2 separate regions of the Homo sapiens genome follow, and region 1 is linked to region 2. Evidence: promoter capture Hi-C in human tissues and cell types (Jung and others, 2019). All regions are on one chromosome and are shown on one strand. The core of a region is centred on a gene start or on the middle of the fragment in contact, and the rest is flanking DNA. Distances in the headings are between cores, read along the strand shown.

Region 1 (6,187 bases), core at 3,417-5,916, 34 kb after region 2:
CAACAGCTGCTAGAGCTGGAAAGGCAGTGAGAAAACAGTCACTGCAGGCGGAAGAAAGGGCAACTAGAGCTGGAAAGGCAGTGAGAAAACAGTCACTGCAGGCTGAAGAAAGGGCAACTTGTGTTATGTCGTCATTGGAATAATTGGCAAAATGTTTTCTGAGGAAACTTAAAAGATAAAAAAAAACGTACCTAATAACATTTTAAAAACATGATTAAGGAGATCTCCAGGCAGAATGTTGAAAGTGCCACTTGGCTTCTCCTCGGTATGATAACATGCAAGAAAAGAGAGATGAGCAAAGGAAGGAACCATTCAGCTTATAAGCAAAGTTTAGAGGATTTACAGAAGCCCAGGGATTTGCTAGTTTGGAAAACATAACTGTCTCTTGTCCTCTGTTTTCCCAGCTGGTAAAAATTAGTCTAAGTTGGCCAGCCGTGGTGGCTCATGCCTGTAATGGCAGTGCTTTGGGAGGCTGAGGCAGGAAGGTTGCCTGAGGCCAGGAGTTTGAGACAAGACTGGGCAACATAGGGAGACACCATTTCCAAAAAAAAAAAAAAAAAAAAAAAAAAAGTCAGTGGTGGTGTGTACCTGTAGTCCCAACTACTCGGGAGGCTGAGGCAGGAGGATTGCATGAGCCCAGGCGTTTGAGGCTACAGTGAGCCATGACTGAGCCACTGCATTCCAGCCTGGGCAACAGAGCAAGACCTGGACTTCCTGAAAGTTAAAGCCAAAAACCACATCAAGGGTATGGTTGTAAGAACCCCTGTGAAAACCTATGAATGATTTAAGGCAATGTCTGAAGGAACCTTGCAGTCACGGCTTCTGAGAATCTTAAAGGCCTTTTCCAAGAGCAGCCTCAAAATATTTCCTGAAAGACCTTGCTTCTCTTGATATTTACCCCAGAACTCCATGCAGTTTCCCTATTTTAATACATTATGTCAATTATATCACCAGAGGTGAGAAAATAAAACCCAAAATGACTCAGGGCCTCCCATATCAGTGAAATTTTTAGGGGTCCATTTGTCTGGGGTATGCCAAGACATCCCAGGGTGAGGACAAGTTCTTGTACCTTGCTTTTCTTCCACTTAGGGGTATGGTACTGCTGGGATTTTGGATTTTGGAGACAGCAACACACCTCTTTGAATACTGCTCCCACGCATGTATTGGGTGACTCAGAAGGCTACGGATTTTGAGGGAGGCCCAGAGCAAGACTACACTTCGCAGCAGGTTCTAGCTGCAGTTTAAGCGGCCTTTCTGCTTGGGCCATGTGCCTGGTAATTCCATGGTGCTAGAGATGCTTGTTGCAGGCATGTAGGCCACACAGAGTCTCTTGCAAGCTCTGTTAGGAAAGCTGCAGTATTGGCCTCTAGGGTTCTGTGGCAAGGCCGTGCCTGCAACAGTTAATGCTCCCAGAAGTGGATCTTAACAAACGATGGATAGAGGGTTGGTAGATACATATCCCAACTTCCTTGCCCCTCAGGTAGGAAAACTCTGAGGTGCATCCTAAGCCATCTGTCCCAGAGTTCCCTGAAGGAATTAAGCCCCAGCTATCCACAATTTACCCTGTATTGGCTTCTTTCCCTTCTCAGACCTTTATTTTCCTATTGGTGATCTTCCCCAGAGAAACTTCTTGCACTCAAAAGCTTGTCTCAGTGTCCGTCTCTGGAAGGATCCAACTCAATTGACCAACAATTAGAGAAAGGCAAAGGATCTTGGTCATCTTTTAATCCTGCTCAAAACACAGCTTTTTCCCAGAAAAGAAAGTCCTATGCTGCAATATCCTGGATTTGGTGGTTCAATGAGATTTCTCCTTTTTCTTTCTTTCTTTCTTTCTCTCTTTCTTTCTCTCTCTCTCTTTCTTTCCTTTCTTTCTTCCTTTCTTCCTTTTTCTTTCTCTCTCTCTTCTTTTCCTTTCCTTTCCTTCTTTTCTGCCTCCCTTCCTTTCTTCCTTTCCTTCCTTCCTTTCATCCCTTCCTCTCCACTCCCCCTTCTCTCTTTCTCACCCTCTTTCTTTCTTTTGATGGGGTCTTGCTCTGTCACCAGGCTGAAGTGCAATGGTGCGATCATGGCTTATTGCGGACTGGAATTTCTGGGCTCAAGTGATCCTCCTGCCTCAGCCTCCTGAGTAAGTGGGACTATAGCCATGCGCTGCCATACCTGGCTAATTAAAAAAAAAATTAAAGAGACTGGGTCTCTCCCTCTGTGTTGCTCAGGTTGGTCTCAATCTCCTAGCCTCAAGCAATCCTCCTGCTTCAGTCTCCTGAAGTGTTGAGATTACAGGTGCTAGCCACTGTGCTTAGCTATCAATGAGTTTTCGGTTGTATTTGCACATGCATACTAAAGAGGCAAGAAAAAAAAAACTGAAGATACCAGCTATGCGTCCTCCAATTCTAACTCCAGCAGATACCAGCTGTGCATCCTCCAATTCAATTCTAACACCTTCCACCTGGAGACAGGCTCAGTCACATCCCACAGGCTGCGGGCTCAGTCCCACAAGGCTGCCCCACTTCAAACGCCAGTCATAACCACAGGCTGTAACCTGTGCTTCTGACCAAGCAACTATAAATTGAGGTTTTCAGGGCCCTCACCTTGGGTTTGATTAATTTGCTAGAGTGACTCATAGACCTCAGGGAAACACTTTACTTACACTTACCCATTTATTACAAGGATGTTACAAAGGACACAGATCAAGAGCCAGCTGGAAGAGATGCACAGGGAAGGGGTGCGGAGCTCCCATGCCCTCTCCAGGGCACCACCCTCCAGGCACCTCCATGTGTTCAGCTATCTGGAAGCTCCCCAGACTCTGTCCTTTTGGGTTTTCATGGAAGCTTCATTATGTAGGCATGAATAATTATATCATTGACCACTGGTGACCAACCCAAACTTCAGATCCTTTCCCTTCCCCAGAGGTTGGAGGGTGGGGCTGAAAGTCCCAGCCCTCTAATCATGGCTGGGCCACCATTTACCTCATTAGCATACAAAAGACTCCTGTTGCTTTAGAGATTCCAAGGGTTTGGGAAGCTATATGTCAGGAGACAGGAGAAGACCAAATATATATTTCACAGTATCACACACACATACTCTCTTGATCACAGGTGAAGTTTTGCCCAAAGCAACAGAAGTGAAGCAAGCTTCTATTCTCACAGAGGTTTGGGTCCGGTAGATACTAATAACTTCTATTCTCTGATGCATTGTAGTAGGGCAGACATTAAGCATTTCATGTGCATTTTTTTTTTCTTTTTGAGACAGGGTCTCACTCTATCTCCCAGGCTGGAGTGCAGTGGCACTAACACAGCTCACTGTAGCCTCAATCTGCAGGGCTTAAGCGATCCTCCCACCTCAGCCTCCTGAATAGCTGGGATTACAGGCATGCACTACCATGACCAGCATATTTGTATTTTTTGTAGAGACGGGTTGTTACTATGTTGCTCAGGCTAGTCTTGAACTCCTGACCTCAGCCTCCCAAGTAGCTAGGAATACAGGCACATGCCACCACAGCCAGCATATTTTTGTATTTTTTGTAGAGACAGCTTACTGCCATGTTGCTTAGGCTGATCTTGAACTCCTGAGCTCAAGGGCTCCACAGGCCTTGGCTTCCCAAAGTGCAAGGACTAAGGTGCAACTGCCACACCCAGCCTTTCATATGTATTATCTTATTTAAGCTTCACTTTACAAGTGAGAAGGGCAGCCTTGGCTCAGAGAAGTTAGGTGACTTGCAGCAAATCACATAATTGCTAAGTGATGGATCTGAGCTTTAGCCCCAGGACTATCTGACCTTGGGTCTAAACTTATACTACTGTATTTTTCGTTAAGTCAGTCAGAGTTCTATCCTTTGACAGAAAGTATAACCTTCTTTTAAGGCAGAATAAGACCCTCTGCCCAACCCTGCTCTTTCTTTCTCCTCCGCACTAAGAAGACAGCGAATACAGTAGAGGGTTTTGGACTGGGATAGTGGTTGCAGAGAAGATCTGGAACTAAAAATATGGACCAGGGGTAGAAATGGTGGTGATTCCACCAAACTTGGAAACACTTAACAAGACCCCATAACATGCAAGATATGCAAGAAATGGGGTACATTTTCTATACCAGTGCCTTAAGTAAAAAAATTCCTTGTTAAACAAATGATTTAGAGAAGACAGAACCAAATATATATATATAGCTGTGTGTGTATTCTAATAAAGGTTGTTAAAGTCTTAAAGTTAGTGGTGGGAGAAAACAATAAAAAAATATGAAATCTCCCTATGTTAATAAACTAATTTCAAATACCAAGGGTTGGTTTTTGGTTGGGTGAGTCTGTTTTTGCCTTGATTAAAAAGAAGTGATTTTTTTCTTCAGCCTAGTTTTCCTGGTATGAAAGGCAAGAAGGAATGACATTCCATAACTGTTATAGAGGTGAAAACAGTTTTATTTATTGGTGGTCATTACCGGCCTATAACCAGGGCACAACCTTCTTGGTAAACATTTACCAAGCATTAGTGGAAGATGATTCACTAACTTTTAAAACTCTCCTTCCCTTATATGCATATTAATACCACGATATCTTTAGCTTTTAAGTCCATATATACAGGCACAGGTGCGAATAAATTCAAACATATCACTTGTAGTGGTTTACATAAGGGCTTGCTAGTTCAAATGGGGTTGTTAGTTTTGCATCTCAAATTAGTTCCTGTCAACCCAGCAACTAAAGAAAATTCCTTTGTGAAAAAAGTTTCCAGGCATGACCCAGTAATTGTTTTAATGGATTTTCAATGAAGGGTGAAGTACCATGCTATGTAGCCTGTGGGCATTCCATAAATATATTTTGACTGATTCTGTTAACAAACTACATAGAAAAAACCAAATACTTACTATCCAATCCTCTTATATTGTTTCCCATAGGCTCTGTCTGTTAGTGTATTTATAAGCATTTAAAGTGTATAAGGGAGCTCTGGCAGTGAGAGTGAATTGCCCAATGCAGAGAAGCACTCTGGGCTGGAGGGTTTTACTTAGTCTAAGATTTTCTTTTTTTTTTTTTGTGAGACGGAGTCTGGCTCTGCCGTCAGGCTGGAGTGCAGTGGCATGATCTTGGCTCACTGCAGCTTCCGCCTCCTGGGTTCAAGCGATTCTCCTGCCTCAGCCTCCCGAATAGCTGGGAGTACAGGTGCATGTCACCACGCCTGGCTAATTTTTGTATTTTTAGTAGAGACAGGGTTTCACCATGTTGGCCAGGATGTTCTCGATCTCTTGACCTCGTGATCCACCCTCCTCGGCCTCCCAAAGTGCTGGGATTACAGGCGTGAGCCACTGTACCAGGCTACTTAGTCTAAGATTTTCAGTGTGCACCTGAGATTTGCCCTTTCCAAAATGAGGAAGAGGCCTGAAGCCGATCAGCTGAAAGAAGTACTAAGCCCTGCAGGCTGAAAAGGTAATGTCCCACCTATGCTGGAGGACCTGATGTTGGTATAGTCAATTTTCTGTCTTCTATGTAAGGTATAGATCTGCTCTGATCTTGACATTGTGAAGAAAGCTACTATACTGTCAGAATCTGCTGTAATATAGCCCTGAGATGAGAAAGGTGTGTAGAACAGAAATCTTCACTGCCCTTCTCCCAAAACATTCATTGACCCCTCCTGTAAGATATATATATATATATAATTATTATTTTTTCTAGACAGAGTCTCGCTCTGTTGCCCAGGCTGGAGTGCAGTGGTGCAGTCTTGGCTCACTACAATCTCAGCCTTCCAGGTTCAAGGTTCCCAGGTTCCCAAGCAGATTCTCGTGTCTCAGCCTCTTGAGAACTGGGGCTACAGGCACACGCCACCACACCTGGCTAAGTTTTATATTTTTAGTAGTGATGGAGTTTTGCCATGTTGGCCAGGCTGGTCTTGAACTCTTGATCTAAGGTGATCCGCCAACCTTGACCTCCCAAAGTGCTGAGATTACAGTCATGAGCCACCGCGCCCGTCCTGCATTCTTGCTGTGTGTGTGTAACCCTTGCTATAGTTATATAATTTAGGTTGAATTTAATTTATACGTTGACTATGATCTGAGGGTCAAGATCATTTGGGATAAAGGAGAGATCAACTACATGTCCGTATACTGCAAGTTAGAATTTAGTTAAGAAGGCCCTGAGTAGATTCCAGAATTATAATAAAGCTTTCATTTTTAGTTTGAGGAAACTTCAATATGGGCGACAGAACAAAGAACT
Region 2 (6,375 bases), core at 325-2,824:
AAAGAAGTGCACAGATAATAGGATAAGTAGTTCAGTAAAAACTGGGAGAATCCTATCACAATCTTTTTAGCAGCCACTACGATGAGGAAATGAGCTTAACTAAAATACAACTCCTTATCTGCCAATAATACAAATATGAAAGCCTAGAGTCAGTTCTAGTAGCAAAATCTTAACCTGGCTAAGATTTCTAGCCCAAATTAAGCCTCTGCATTTAAACATGCAGGTACACAAGGACGGCCAGATGCACACTGAGAGTTCTACTTGTCACCACATCCGGCACAGAAACTGAAGCAGGGAAAAACTGGCTTTCCTGAAGGAGCTTCCTAAGAAACCGCAGGGCCTCAAGCCAATCTAACTCTGGAGGCATCGACAATCCAAATTCCAGACCAACTCTTGGCCAAGCTAACTTTTATGGTGTACACTAACTCCGCGGTAACAATACACAATCTGGCTACAATCAAGCCTTTCCAATTCTCCAAAGCATCTCTAGTCTTACTCGTCCTTCGTAGCTCAAGATAGAAGCAAAGCGACTGACACAAAGGCCAGTCGTCCCAAGGCGCTTTTTCTATGGCTCCGCTACGGCCACTTATTAACTATTCCTAAACTAGGGGCTCAATGCCCCCCCCTTCTGCCCTTCCTCAATCCTGCCCCGGCCGGTAAGCCTCTGCCTGGGAGCCCCTCCGCCTGGAACAAAGCGAGGGGCCCCGGCGGTGGGGGCAAGAGGCGCCAGCGGCACGGGGACTGCCGCACGGCGCACAATGAGAAACTACCAACTTCAGAGCGCAGGAACATCTCAATTGGCAAGAAAGAGGGGCGGCGGCAGGCACGCCCAACTTCAAACTCAGGAAACCTACGGGCTGGCGGCCATCTGGGAAAAAGCCCCCTTCCCAGGGAGAGAAGAAAAAGGCGGAGGAGATGCGAATCGCCCACCGGGCCCCGGAGGAGAGCCCTGCCCTCAGACCGGCCCCCGCCCCCGAGGCCCGCTTCCCCGCCTTCTCTCTGCCTCTGGTTCGCTGCCCCAGGCCGGGCGGCCGGTTACCTTGATGCGCTCCCGGCACTGGGACGGGGTCCGCTCGTAGCCCAGCTCGGCCAGGGCCCGGGACACGCGCTCGTACATGGCTGGCCCGGGGGCCTTGCTGCCGAACACCGTGCCGGCTCCCTCCAGCTGCTGGTACCGCGCCTCCACCAGCCGCTCGTTGCCCCACACTGCGATGAGCGCGTTCGTCTCGGCTGGCGTCCACGACATGCCCCGGCAGGCGGCGGCGGCGGCTGCCGCAGCCCCGCCACCGCCGCCACCAGGGGAGAAGGAGACCGAGGACGAGGCGGCGCTGCGGCCCCCCAGCCCCAGCCCGAGACCCCCGGACGCCGCTGCCCCCGAGCCCGCCGCACTGCCCGGCCCGAGCGGGGAGGCACCCCGAGGCGTGGAAGGGTCGGACAGCGATGGATTTCCGTCGCTCAGGCCACCAGGAGAAGCCGGGGAAAGCACCTCCATCTTCGGAATTTTTAGCGGCGAGTTGGCGGGCAGCTCCGAGCCACAGGGCGCAGCCATCTTCCAAGCGGCCGCCGCTGCACCGCCCGGAAGTGACGCGCCCGCGCATCCGGCCACCGCGGTCTCCGGGGCTGCCCTCGGGCCTGGCTCGCCCGCGGGCGGATGGCTCCGGGTCTCTGCTGCTGAGGATGTGGCTGCCGGGCGGAGGTCGTCCACTCCCCTGGGCCTTTCTCCGCGAGCCCTCCCACGCCGCCCGCTCCTCTCCCGGGGCGAAGGGCGGGGACGAGGCGCGCCGAAGCCCCGAGCTGAAGAGAAGGGTGGGGGCATGAGGGCGCTGGAGTGAGGAACAGATTGGAGCCTTCCCACTTCCTCTCCAATCTCAGCCCCCGGGAGGAGGGGTGAGGCCCTCGAGGGGGCCCGGAGTTAAGGAGGAATAGACCGTTTCTCTCTCTCCTGTCTCCCCCGCCTCTGCCCGTCTTCCCTCTAAGCCGGCCTCTAGGTGCAGAGGCTGACGTCCAGGATGGGGACCGGGGAAGCCTCTGGAGGGTATATCCGGGAAGGCACCAAGGCTGAAGTGAGAGCGGTTCTGGGGAAGGCTTTAAAAAGCAGATATGGACCAGGGTAGAGTTCGTACGCTGTAGCTTTTCAAGAACACCGATCTCATTAATTAAAGAACAGCAACTATTTAATTCCAGTTATAAACTATTGTTTTCCAGTTAGTCTGGGTAGGTGTGGCCGTTTGTAGAATAGTTAGATTACATTAGTCTATTGCGTTGGTACAGTTGTCTATAGCTTGAGCATATAAAAACTCCTGAGCCCAGCAGAAAAGTTACTTTCCAATACCAGTCTCCATCCTCCGTGCTTTGGAAGTTGCATCGTTTTCCGGTTTTTCGTACTCAAAGAACACTGTCAATTATGACAGCTCTGTGACCTCTGGTAATGAATTAGTGTATTAGTCACTCCTGAAACGTTCCTTAAAGTGCTGGAACTTAACAGTAGCACAGCACATCCAGTACACAGCTGTACCGTATTTCCATATTTTTCAAAGCTGAAAATCTTAATTGGATATCTTGGATCATTAACTTAAAACCTCAGCGGATTTTTCTTTCAAAGCAGACATAACTGAGGATGCTGACCAATGAATGCAAATAAACTATGCAATATTTTTTAAAATAACAAATGTATGTTAGTTTTTTTTAAGCTGAGGTCAACTATGTTTTGGGGGGTATGTGCTTTTTTAAATTATTGTTTTATTTCAATCGATTTTTGGGGGTAACAGGTGGCGTTTGGTTACATGAATAAGGTTTTTAGTGGTGATTTCTGAGATTTTGGTGCGTCCGAGCAATGTACACTGTATCCAATGTGTAGTCTTTTGTCCCTCATTAGCCTTCCCCTTACCCCTGAGCTCCCGAGTCCCCAAAGTCCAATGTATCATTCTTATTGAAGACAGCTAAATTTTTAACTCTGAGACTCACTGGAGAGAATGACTGGTTGTCTTTGGGTGTTACTGAAAAGCCAAAGGATTAAGCAATAGGGATAAAGTAGAGGAGGAGATAATTGTTCTCGTATGTCATATGAAAATGCTAACCATAGTTTGTAAGCTAACAGAAGAAGCCTGAGGAAGTTCCCGAATTTATGATATCCTCTTCCCTTTTTTCCAAAGAAAGATGCAGTCTAGCACCTCAGTTAAGAATATGGACTCTAAAGTCAGACTGCCAGGCTTCAAATTCCAGTTCTGCGACCTCAGCAAAGTTACTTAACCAAGCTCTCAGTGCCTTGTTTTCTTCATCTGTAAAATGAGGATGACGTCACAGCATTGTTGAGAGAATTAATACAGGTAAAGTCCTTAGAACGGTGCCTGGTTCACAGTAAACATTGTGTGAGGACTGTAAAAGAATCTGAAACATCTATCAAAACAAAATTAACTCTCATTCAGCCCAGTGATAAATGTTTTAATGTCATAAGGTATTTGGTGTGTATGAAAGGGAGAGTTGTGCCTAAATCATATACTAAATCAGAGATTCCAAAGAGGGGTGTGTGTGTGTGTGTGTGTGTGTGTGTGTGTGTGTGGGAGACAGGGTCTCACTCTGTCACTGAGGCTGGAGTGCAGTGGTGTGATCTCAGCTCACTGCAACCTCTGGTCCCAGGCTCAAGCGATCCTCCCACCTCAGCCTTCCAAGTAGCTGGGACCACAGGTATGTGCCACCACTCCCGGCTAATTTATGTATTTTTTGTAGAGATGGGGTTTCACCATGTTGCCTAGGCTGGTCTCAAACTCCTGGGCTCAAGTGATCCTCCACCTTTGCCTCCCAAAGTGCTGGGATTACAGGCATGAGCCACTGCACCCAGCCCTCCAAAGAGTTTTTAAATTACCACTTTAACCTTCTGTCATTGTCCCACAAGTCTGAAAAACAACAACAACAAAAACCCCTCCTCCTATTATCATGGGATCCTCGGGATGTGGCTTTGCCAGCCAGAAATCTCTGTGGCTGGTGGTGCCTTTGCCCAAGTTTTGCTTGGGCCCACTAGGTTCCTTCTGCCCACTCAGCCTGGCAGGCTGCACTCAGCTCATGCTACCAGCCCAGATCCCACACCTGCCAAGGGTAAGCCAGGCACAGAGCAGCAAGGGGTGCATGAGCGAGCAAGTGTGGGGTCTGGCCACTGCCCACAGCCAGGCACATCAGCTATGGCAGGTTGGGCAGCTCCAGGAGCCAGCATGGGCACTGGCTCCCTGTGAGGTTGCGGCTGGACCAGGCATACCACGAGCAGCTTCTGCTGATGGTACCAGGGAATGTGGTGGCTCCCAGAAGCTTGGCGACACCAGGAACTGCAGAGTCCCAAAGAGGGTGTAAGAGCCCTGGTTCGGGGAGCTCCTAGGTCTGGACTCCCCAAAGGGCCACAGGCAGGAGAATCGCTTGAATCTGGGAGGCAGAGGCTGCGGTGATCCGAGATGGCACCATTGTACTCCAGCCTGGGCAACAAGAGCGAAACTCCGTCTCCAAACAAACAAACAAAACAAAAACAAGTGTCCCTATATGCATGGGTGTGTTTCTGGGCTCTTCTATTACATTCATCTGTTTGTCTATCCATTTTTCTATTTGTGTTGCTTGTAATAATATCACACTGCTTTAATTACTGTGAGTTTATAGTAAGTCTTATGTCGAATACAGCAAGTGCCTCCTCACCCTCTTGCTTTTCCTCCTCCTCTTCCAAGAGTAGCTTGCTATTCTTAATCTTTTGCATTCTCCTATACATTTTAGAATTCATTTGTCAAATTCTACAGAAAAAAACTGCGGTTATTTTGAATGGTATTGCATTGAATCTGTGGACCAATTTGAGAACTGACATTTGTACAGTAATCACCCGTAGAGTCCTTGGAAATGGTATAAACCTTTAGTCTCTCAATAAAATTACGTTATTTACTTCATAAAGGTCTTACACATTTTTGTTCAGTTTGTTCCTAGGTAGTTGATTTTTTAAAATGTTTTTGTAAGTGGTATCATTTTTAAATTTTATTTTCTATTTTTTTTCTTTTGAGACAGGGTCTTGCCCTGTCACCCAGGCTGGAGTGCAGTGGTGTAAACATGGCTCACTGCAGCCTCAACCTCCGGGGCTCAAGCAAACCTCCTGCTGCAACCTCCCAAGTAGCTGGGTCTACAGGCATGCACCAACACATCTGGCTAATTTCTAATTTTTTTGCTGGTATATAAAAATACTAATTGATTATCTTATTTTGTATCTAGTAATCCTGATGGAGCAGTTGATTAAAATTGTATATCATTGCACGTCATTCTCTTTTTAAAAATCCAAGCCTAGTGAGACCCTGTCTCTACAAAAAGTTTTTTTTTTTTTAATTAGCTGGGCATGGTGGTGCACATCTGTACTTGCAACTACTCGGTAGGCTGAGGTGGGAGGATTGCTTGAGCCTGGGAGGTTGAAGCTGCAGTGAGCCATGATCGAGCCAGTACACTCCAGCTTGGGTGACAGAGCAAGACCCTGTTTCAAAAACAAACAAAAAAATCCACCAATGACTTTCCCTTGGAATGATATAATCCAAACTCTTTGCCATGCCTATGGTGGTTTTAAAACATGTCTGCACATTGTTTGACATTCTCCCAGGAAGAAATTAATCGAGTCTATATCTCCTCCCCTTGAATGTGGGTGGGTCTTGGTGACTACCTTGATAAACCGAATGCGATACAAGTGACACTGTGACTTTCAAGGCTAGATTTGAAAATACCCTGCAGCTTCTGGCAGTTTCTCTTGAGATACTTGCTCAGAAGCATTTCATCCACCATGTAAGAAGTTAGGCTATCCTAAGTGTACACGGAGAGACCACAAAGAGAACGAGAAAGATAGCCAGTGAACCAGAAAGATTCCAGCCTCCAGTTGGTTTTCTGCCTAATCCAGGCTCCAGACTTGTGAATGGAGAAGTGTTGAGGTGACCCCAGCTCCAGCCACCAGCTGACGACAACCATACCGGAGATCCTGAGAGCTGCCTAGCTGACCCCAGGCACCCCCCAGACTTGTGAGCAAAATGAATTATTGTTGTATGTTCTAACCCACTGAATTCTGGGGTATTTGTACGTAGCAATGGGTATTTGGAACAACAATCTGTAAGGCCCTTTTTACTCTGAGCTTAACCTACTGTGCAAACTTCATCTACCACCTCAAATACGCCCCAGCCACCCTGACCTCATCTGCCCCATCAAGCGAGCCAAACTTATTTCTGTTTTGGAGCATTTGGAGTTGTCATATCTCCTTATCTTAGAACACTCTTATCTTAGCTCTTCCAGTGACAATCCCCTTCTTGTAATTCATCTCCTCAAATGTCACCTCCCCAGAGAGGCCTGTTACCTTTTTGTCAACAGCACTTATTTTCAGAA

The links. Contacts are between HindIII fragments. The study calls those that stand out against the background at their distance.
Region 1: a fragment that was not itself captured here is called in contact with the fragment with the promoter of MSANTD2 in region 2 in 7 of the 25 tissues and cell types used here (H1 embryonic stem cells, IMR-90 fibroblasts, aorta and 4 more).

The regions. Positions count from the first base shown.
Region 1 is chr11:124,830,219-124,836,405 of GRCh38, forward strand. It overlaps MSANTD2-AS1 (MSANTD2 antisense RNA 1), which reads left to right. Exons shown (of 5, transcript NR_103862.1): 5 at 2,668-4,269. Among named protein-coding and RNA genes, the nearest start is that of ROBO3, 32 kb to the right of the region's middle. The HindIII fragment of the contact is 4,862 bases long and covers 2,236-6,187 here.
Region 2 is chr11:124,798,832-124,805,206 of GRCh38, forward strand. MSANTD2 (Myb/SANT DNA binding domain containing 2) reads right to left here and starts at 1,575. Exons shown (of 4, transcript NM_001308027.2): 1 at 1,040-1,575. The coding sequence starts at 1,549. It overlaps MSANTD2-AS1 (MSANTD2 antisense RNA 1), which reads left to right and starts at 1,597. Exons shown (of 5, transcript NR_103862.1): 1 at 1,597-2,425; 2 at 3,153-3,326; 3 at 5,900-6,017. RefSeq lists silencers at 218-267, 498-577, 978-1,217, 1,258-1,927 and an enhancer at 1,154-1,761. The HindIII fragment of the contact is 9,762 bases long and covers 1-6,375 here.